Regions from separate parts of the Homo sapiens genome. Here all the other regions are linked to region 2. Evidence: promoter capture Hi-C in 16 types of primary human blood cells and fetal thymus (Javierre and others, 2016). All regions are on one chromosome and are shown on one strand. The core of a region is centred on a gene start or on the middle of the fragment in contact, and the rest is flanking DNA. Distances in the headings are between cores, read along the strand shown. Region 1 has its middle 96 kb from the start of EPC1. Region 2 holds the start of EPC1 (enhancer of polycomb 1). Region 3 overlaps EPC1 (enhancer of polycomb 1).

Region 1 (2,938 bases), core at 104-2,603, 96 kb after region 2:
AGAGAAAAGGGCCCTTCAAATTCCAGTAGCACAAAGGGTCTTTCTTTTCTTTCCTTCCTTCCTTCCTTCCTTCCTTCCTTCCTTCCTTCCTTCCTTCCTTCCTTCCTTCCTCCTTTCTTTTTTTATTTTTCTGGAGTCTTGCTCTGTCACCCAGACTGGAGTGCAGTGGCACAATCATGGCGCAATCTAGGCTCACTGCAGCCTTCATCTCCCACATTCAAGCGATCCTCCTGCTTCAGCCTCCCGAGTAGCTAGGACTACAGGCATGCACCACCATACATAGCTAATTTTTAAAATTTTATTAATTTTTTTTTATTTTTAGTAGAGACAGGGTTTGGCCATGTTGGCCAGGCTGGTCTCAAACTCCTGACCTTGGGTGATCTGCCCGCCTTGGCCTCCCAAAGTGCTGGGATTACAGGTGTAAGCCACTGTGTCCGGCCTTTTTTTTTTTTTTTTTTTTGAGACCGGGTACTGCTTTGTCACCCAGGCTGGAGTGCAGTGGCTCAATCATATAGCTCATTGCAGTCTCGAACTCCCAGGCATAAGCAATTCTCCCTAATAACTAGGACTACAGACATGTGCCACTATGCCCAGCTAATTTTTTAATATATATCTAGACATGGTGGTCTCGCTACATTACCCAGGCAAGTCTTGGTCTCTCCTCTTGGCCTCCCAAAGTACTGGGGTTACAGGCATGAGCCACTGCACCCCACCAGAGTAGCTTTCCTTCCTAAGAGACACCTACTGCGATAGTTCTGAAACTTGTTTGTCTAAGAATCATAATGGGGTAATTTTCACAGGTGTTGGGCAGGACCCAGGAATATGCATTTTTAATCAGTGTTCAGGCAATTCCACTGAGGAAGTTCTGAAGGTCACTCTCAGAGCTTCTCAAACTTGAGTGAGTATTCCCGGAGATTTTGTGAAAATGCAGGTTTTGATTCAGTGGGTCTGGGGTGCAGCTGAAGGTTCCGCATTTCTAGCAAACTCTGAGAGTCTACTAACACTGCTGGCCCAAGAGCCCCTGCCCGGAGTCGCAGGGCTCTGTCGTCTCAAGCCCCTTCTGGTTGTCTATCTTGATTCCAGTGCTTTCTAACAACATGTGCTTTGCTGTCATAAGCTTCCGGATTTATCAAAACTACAAGTTGATCTAGGAAAGCTACGACAGTAATTTTGTATACCCATTTCCCTGCTAAAAAAATAAATAAAATGTTGTGTGATTGCTAGAGCTTAGATAAAATTGTGGAAGACAACCAAACATAACTAAATCTTGCCAGTCAGCTAAGAAGTGGGCTATTTTTGAAAGCCATATAAAATTCAATAGAAAGTCTGCTGGGAACAGGTGTTTTCCGGTCTTGGGAGACAAAACTGCTCATTCAGGCTCCAGCTGCATGCATTTTTCCTTCTTGAATTTGTTTTACTCTTGGGAAAAAAGACTTTTAAATTCAGTGACAGCAGAGCTCTAGAGCTCATTTAGACAGAACTTAAAATGTTCTCCTGTGCCTTATCTGCTGAACTGTGTGTATCCCAAAGCCACTAGCAGAACATCTTCAGTGTGTCTGTGAGGAGATGACAGGAAAGGTGGAAGCTTGACCGAGGCTGGCCATACAGAACCAGGGTTCCAGAGAGGCCATAAAATGTCCTTTAGACTCTTTTTTTTTTTTTGAGCTTTTTACAAGCTTTTTTCCTTTTTTTTAATTTTTAAAATTGTGGTAAGATATAGATAACATAAAATGTACCATTTTAATCATCTTTCAATGTACAGTTCAATGGCATTCAATACATTCATATTGCTATGTAACCATCACCACTATCCACCTTCAGAATTTTTTGTCATCTTAAACGGAAACTGTAAGTAAACAGTAACTTCCCAGTCCCCTCTCCCCCTAGCCCCTGGTAACCACTGTTCTACTTTCTGTCTCTGTGAATTTGACTACTCTAGGTCCCTTGCATGCCTTAGTCAGCTTGAGCTGCCACAGCAAAATATCATAAACTGGGTAACTTAACAGACAGGCTGAAGTTCTGGAGGCCAAAAGCCTGAGATCAAAGTGCCAGCATAGTCGGTTTTGGTGAGGGCTCTCTTTCTAGCTGTAGGCTGTGGCCTTCTCACTATGTTCTTAGGTGGCAGGGAGAAACAGACGTCTCTGTGTCTTTTTTTTTTTTTTTGGAAATGAAAGTGTGTTTTCTTTTCTTTTTTTTTTTCTTTTTTTGAAGATGGAGTCTCACTCTGTTGCCCAGGCTAGAGTGCAGTGGTGCAATCTCTGCTCACTGCAACCTCCGCCTCTCAGGTTCAAGAGATTCTTCTGCCTCAGCTTCTCGAGTAGCTGTGATTACAGGCACCCACCACTATGTCCAGCTAATTTTTCTATTTTTAGTAGAGGCGGGGTTTCACCATGTTGGCCAGACTGGTCTCGAACTCATGACCTCAAGCAATCTGCCTGACTCAGCCTCCCAAAGTGTTGGGATTACAGGCGTGAGCCACCATGCCCAGCCTCTGTGTCTCTTCTTATAAGGACATGAAGAATAACACACCAAAAAATCAAATACTGTATGATTCCTCTTACATGATGCTGTTGAATGAATTGAGTCTACTCAGAATTCATATGTTAAAGCCCCAACCCCCAGTGTGACTGTATTTGGAGAAAGGGCCTTTATGGAGATAATGAAGTTTGAACCAGCCACCACACCCAGTTAATGTTTTGTATTTTTAGTAGAGACTGGGTTACTCCATGTTGGGCAGGCTGGTCTCAAACTCCTGACCTCAGGCTTCCTGAGGTGATCCACCTGAAGGTCATCAGGGTGTGGCTCTGATCCAACTGTTTGTTACTTTGTATTGTTATTTGTTGTGGCTTATTTCACTTAGTATAATGTCTTCAGGGTTCATCTGTGTTACAGCATGTGTCAGAATTTTATCACTTTTTAAGGCTACCATTCCATCATA
Region 2 (2,854 bases), core at 213-2,712:
ACTTAAGTGAGCTGCCAATATCGGAGTTTAAGTATAATTTTGGAGAACTGCAATCCGTCCTGTTTTCTCCCTACCCCGCGGGAGCTGGCTAAACCAGCCTGGAGGCTAGCAGTTTGCCTGTGTGCCCTAAGCTAGTGACAGCTCATATCAAGCCCAGTATTTAAGGAGCGTGATTACTTTTACTACGTAGTTCCCAGGGAGAAAAGCAACTCAAAACATTTTTGTATCTTTTTGTATCTTGTTGCACAAGATACAAAATTGTGCACTAAGATACAAATTGAAACTCGAATTGAAATTTGGCTGCCAATTTATTAAACCCACCCCAACAATCTTCCCTATTAACAACAACAACAACGAAGAGATCTCAGGATACCCATTTTCATGTGTAATATAAACCGATGCCACCCATCTATCATATCCATCTAAATCTAATAATTCAGCTTTTTGTTTGGCGGGAGTACGACAGGTCTTTATATGATTCAATGTTACAAAGTTTTTCAGAGGACAAATGATGAAAGTGTGAACCCACGGCTATGATGAAGCCGCAGTCTCTTTGAGTACAGAATCATGAGCTAGATATAAAGAACTGGCTTTAAATTCTGAAGTAGATCTTGCTTTTAAATGTTATAGTGGTGGGTAATAATTTCCTTTGCTTCAGTTACTATTTAAAAAGTAAATATGTGTAGATGAAAATGCAGGATTTAAAAAAATCTACTTTGTAGAATAGGATACCTATCATTTATATTAAGCCCAATGCGTGGGAAACGGATCAATGACTTGATGCGGTGCCTATAAAACATTATAATCCAAAGTTGCATTAGGACATAAAAATAACTGCTGATAAAAGTTTACTCAAAGTAGCATCTGCCCCTAATTCAGTTTGTATTTTTATCGTAAAGACCTAAGGCGCCGCGGGAACTAGGCTGTGCGTTCGCCCCCCGCGGCAGACGGCGGCGCGCGGCGCCTCTGGAGCGCCCCTCCGAAGCCCCGTGGGGGCGGCCGTGGCCCCGGGGCAGCCGCTGGCGAGCACCCCAGAGGTCCGAGCCCTCCGAGCCCCAGGTGCCCGGGGCCCGAGCCCCGCCTGCCACTCTCCCCAGCTGCCTTTCCAAACGGCGGCGTGCTGGTGGAGAGAGTTTTCCCGCACCTTGTTCGCCCGTCAGAAAGCGGCGCCGGGAGGGAGCGAGCGTGAGAAAGTGAGCGTGTGCGCTGCAGGAGAGCACGACCCAAGAGCCGGCGCCCGGTGTCCGAGCGCCCAGTCCGCCCTGTCCGCCCCCGGACCCGCGAAGGGCGGGGGCCCGGAGCAGCGAGGCGCGGGAAGCGAGGCCGGCGGGTGCCGGGGGTTGGCGGGACGCGCGCTTCGTGCCGGCGCCGGCCTCGAGCCCGCGCTCCCTCCCCCCGCCCGCGTGCCCGCGCCGCTGCGCGATGCAGTGTGGGGAATGGCTGGGGTTGGCTGAAGAGCGCACAGTGGAGTTTTAATGTCCGCCATGTTGGCCATGGCGTATTGAAGAGAGCGAGCGAGAGAGGAGCGGAGCGGCACAGCCTCCCACCCTCCCGGCTGGTGTTAGTGCCCGGACGGCGGGCTCTGCGCTCCGCCCCTCAAGTCCCCGGCAGCGGTTGGCGAGTGGGGACCGAACCCCCGGTTCTCCATGATCCCGCTGGCCGGGGCCGTTTCCCCAGAGCGGAGAGGTATCTGCTGCGCCTGAGATGAGTAAACTGTCGTTTCGGGCGCGGGCGCTAGACGCCTCGAAGCCGCTGCCGGTTTTCCGCTGTGAGGATCTGCCCGACCTGCACGAATACGCCTCGATAAACAGGGCCGTGCCGCAGATGCCCACCGGAATGGAGAAGGAAGAGGAGTCGGTACGTGTTAACTCCCCTGTCCGACCCACCGTCAGGCCCGCTCCCTCTGCTGCCTGCGGCGGCGGCGGAGCAGCAAACCCACACAAAATGGCCGCCATCTTCTCTTCGCCGCCGACTCTCAGTCGCCGGCCGGGCCTATACCCCGCCTCCCCCAGCCTCGACCCCCGGCCGCCGCGGCCCAGCGGGGCCCCTTCTAAGGCCACCCGCTGACCCTGGCCACTTGTACCCGGGTCCCGCGGAGTTCGGGGGCCCGAAAGGCACAAAGGGGTCACGTGACGAAGCTGCCGGCAGCCATTTTGTGTCTTAGTTCTTGGGTTGGGCCTTGTGCATCCGGAGAGGGGAACGGGCTGGGTGGCTGTGGGGGTGCGGCGAGTCGGGAGCCGTGGAGGACCCGCCTACAGGCCTCTCCGTGGGCCGCTGGGTGGCGCTCCAGGGCCACTGCGGCCTGCGCGCCGCTGCCCGGGCCGGGAGCGCAGGTTCTGTGCACAGTCGGGGAATTTGATTGCCCCATGGTCTGGGAAGCTTGTTGGGCTCAGTGCAGCCCCCACGTGGAGCCTCAGACGGGCATGTCATGTCGCCTGCTGCTCTATGAGGCTTTTCTCCCCCTCTGCAAGGAAATGTCGAGGGTGCAGCGTGTTTGCCCGGACGACTTACTTTTCTAGAAGATAAGACTTACTTTCAGTGTCCTCTTTCTGGGACGTTTGTATCCATCCCTCTCCAGAGCTAGTTGGTCGGAGGATAATAAACCACTATCCCTGACTTTTTCTGTGATCCTTGCGAATATCTTGCAGATTTGTTTGGAGTACCTCTCTCTTCTGAAGCCTGTAACCTTACCTATTTGTAAAATAAATTTAAGTTCTCCTGCTCTCTGGTATCTCAACATAGGGGGAGAAAAGACCCAATTTAAGTAACTTTTATAGATCTAAATTTCGAAGGAGGATCCTTTCTTATTCAAAACCGAACTAAAACTAAGTGACTTGATTCACAGAAATCTTAA
Region 3 (2,763 bases), core at 133-2,632, 65 kb after region 2:
CCATTAGTCCATTAACATAAACAGTCCAAACATACATGTTTTGTATGTTATATGTATTCTGTACTTCATTCTTAAAATAAGCTAGGAAAAAGAACATGTTATTAAGAAATTTATAGAGCCAGGCATGGTGGCTCATGCCTGTAATCCCAGCACTTTGGGAGGCTAAAGTGGGCAGATTGCTTGAGCCCAGGAGTTCAGGACCAGCCTGGGCAACATGGTGAAACCTCATCTCTACAAAAAATGCAGAAATTCACTGGGTGTGGTGGTGAGCGCCTGTAGTCTCAGCTACTCAGGAGACTGAGGTGGTAGGAGCCCAGAAGGTCAAGGCTGCAGTGAGCCAAGATCATGCCACTGCATTCCAGGCTTCACAGCAAAGCAAAACCCTGTTTCAAAAAAAAAAGAAATTCATAAAGGAGAGAAAATACATTTACTAATCATTAAGTGTAAGTGGATCATCATAAAGGTCTTTATCCTTGTCATCTTCACATTGAGGGGGAGGAGGGGTTGGTCTTGTCATCTGAGAGGTGACAGAGGCAGAAGATAATTTACAAATAAGTAGACCCAGGCAGTTCAAACCCATGTTATTCAAGGGTCAGCTGTACTTCTATGAAATGGAAGTCTTTCAGCTCATGAGAAAAATAATCACAATTCAGAAATCAGCTGGAAGATAAAGCTATTTTAGGGACTAACAGCTTATTTATAATCCCATTAATGTTACTGTCTTTATCACCAAAAGCCAGTTTCTCTCTACTTTTATAGTCTTAAGAATCAAAATAAAGAACTTTTCAATAAAGACTTACTTATAGTGTTAGTATAGAGGTTTTAACAGTATAAACCTGTCATAGGTTACCCTGATAATTAAGCTTTCTAAGCTGTAAAAATTCTTTAAGACTTCTCAGAAAATAGGCATGTTCCATCAATCTCCATCTTCTCCACCCCTTAAATAGAGAAGTTGAAGTGTATAACTATCCTAAATATTTAAGGATTTTATAATGCTCTTTTTTTATGAAAAATGTTTTGCTATACTGCTTTAGGCATATTAATAACAGTTGTAAAAATTGTTTGATTTGTGTTTGCCCAAAGAACATTAAAAGATGAGCATTACCAAAAGCTTAGCTGAAAAGAAATCATTAGTAACCTTGTAATTTTTCTTCTTTATCATTTCTTTCCTCCATATATGCGATACAACTATTTATTTATTTATTTAAGACAGGATCTTTCTCTGTCACCCAGACTGGAGTATAGTGGCACAGTCATGGCTCACTGCAGCCTCAACTTCCCAGGCTCAGTGATCCCCCAACCTCAGCCTCCTGGGTAGCTAGGACTGCAGGCGTATGCCACCATGACTGGCTAATTTTTTGTAAGAGATAGGGTCTATGTTGCCCAGGCTAGTCTTGAACTCCTGGCCTCAAGTGATCCTCCTGCCTTGGCCTCCCAAAGTGCTAGGGTTACAGGGGTGAGCCACTGCACCCAGCCTCAATACTACTTTTTAAAAATGAGTTTATCTATTTTTTTTCCTGTTGTCTTAATTATTTTCAATTTCTCCTTAAATTTTGCTAGATCTTCTAATACTTAGAGGATAGATACCTACAGACTACTGTAGGGTAACACTGTTCATTTATATTTGTGAATATTCCAGAGACCTAAAGCTTTTCTCTGCATACTTTATAAAGTATATTACAATGCAGCCATATCATAAGTGCATTTCACTTAATCCAACTCCAGGCCCCTGAAGAAAAAAAAAACAAAATTTAGGCCAAGTGTGGTGGCTCATGCCTGTAATCCCAGTACTTTGGGAGGCCGAGGCGGGCAGATCACCTGAGGTCAGGAGTTCCACACTAGCCTGGCTAATATGGCGAAACCTGGTCTCTACTAAAAAATACAAAAATTAGCTGGGCATGATGGCAGGCGCCTGTAATCCCAGCTACTCAGGAAGCTGAGGCAGGGAGAATGGCTTGAACCTGGGAGTCAGAGGTTGCAGTGAGCCGAGATTGTGCCATTGCATTCCAGCCTGGGCGACAGAGTGAGACTCCATCTCAAAAAAAAAAAAGAGAAAATGTAGCAGCTCAAATGTTATACAGAATTCTAAATACAATTTACTGAAAGAATATATTCTCCAGAGTGAGCCTGGAGTAGGGGAAGTTGAATGTGTTGGTCCTCTTACGGCGTGAGTGCCCGCATTGCCACTTTATTCATAGGTTAAGCATCTTACCTCATTCAGTAGTAATTGTGATTTTAAAGATAATTTTTAATTTTCATACAGCATGGCCCCCACATACAAACCAGACTACTTCCTCTGGCACTTAACCAAAGAAACTCTGATGTAGTCTGATGCCAGCAGAAAAACTGGCAGTGTTGGGCTAATTAAAACAGAAGAGTCAGGCCAGGCACAGTGGGTCATGCCTGTAATCCCAGCACTTTGGGAGGCCGAGGCAGGCAGATTGCCTGAGATCACCTCAGATCAGGAGTTCAAGACCAGCCTGGCCAACATGGCAAAACACGTTTCTATTAAAAATACAAAAATTAGCCAGACGTGGTGGTGGGTGCCTGTAATTCCTGCTACTCGGGAGGCTGAGGCAGGAAAACCACTTGAACCCAGGAGGCAGACGTTGCAGTGAGCCAACATCACGCCACTGCACTCCAGCCTGGGTGACAGGGCAAGACTCCATCTCAAAATAAATAAATAATAAAAATTATGCATGAAACAAAGTATTGACTGCATTTTGACTATGGCCCCATCACATGAGGCCAGGTGTAGAATTT

The links. The method cuts DNA at HindIII sites, captures the fragments that hold promoters and counts their contacts. A CHiCAGO score of 5 or more calls a contact.
Region 1: a fragment that was not itself captured here is called in contact with the fragment with the promoter of EPC1 in region 2 in 5 of 17 cell types (activated CD4 T cells, megakaryocytes, naive CD4 T cells and 2 more); the score reaches 8.2 in activated CD4 T cells.
Region 3: a contact is called between a fragment that was not itself captured here and the fragment with the promoter of EPC1 in region 2, in 3 of 17 cell types (total B cells, naive CD4 T cells and activated CD4 T cells). The highest score is 5.8, in total B cells.

What each region holds. Positions count from the first base shown.
Region 1 is chr10:32,249,689-32,252,626 of GRCh38, reverse strand. No RefSeq gene overlaps it. Among named protein-coding and RNA genes, the nearest start is that of EPC1, 96 kb to the left of the region's middle. The HindIII fragment of the contact is 468 bases long and covers 1,120-1,587 here.
Region 2 is chr10:32,345,766-32,348,619 of GRCh38, reverse strand. EPC1 (enhancer of polycomb 1) reads left to right here and starts at 1,462. Exons shown (of 14, transcript NM_001272004.3): 1 at 1,462-1,857. The coding sequence starts at 1,705. It overlaps EPC1-AS1 (EPC1 antisense RNA 1), which reads right to left and starts at 1,256. Exons shown (of 2, transcript NR_104163.1): 1 at 1,145-1,256. RefSeq lists silencers at 872-1,001, 1,012-1,481, 2,152-2,431 and enhancers at 1,752-1,811, 1,832-1,931. The HindIII fragment of the contact is 3,163 bases long and covers 1-2,381 here.
Region 3 is chr10:32,280,962-32,283,724 of GRCh38, reverse strand. The region is part of intron 10 of EPC1 (enhancer of polycomb 1); the gene reads left to right. Among named protein-coding and RNA genes, the nearest start is that of EPC1, 65 kb to the left of the region's middle. The HindIII fragment of the contact is 538 bases long and covers 1,114-1,651 here.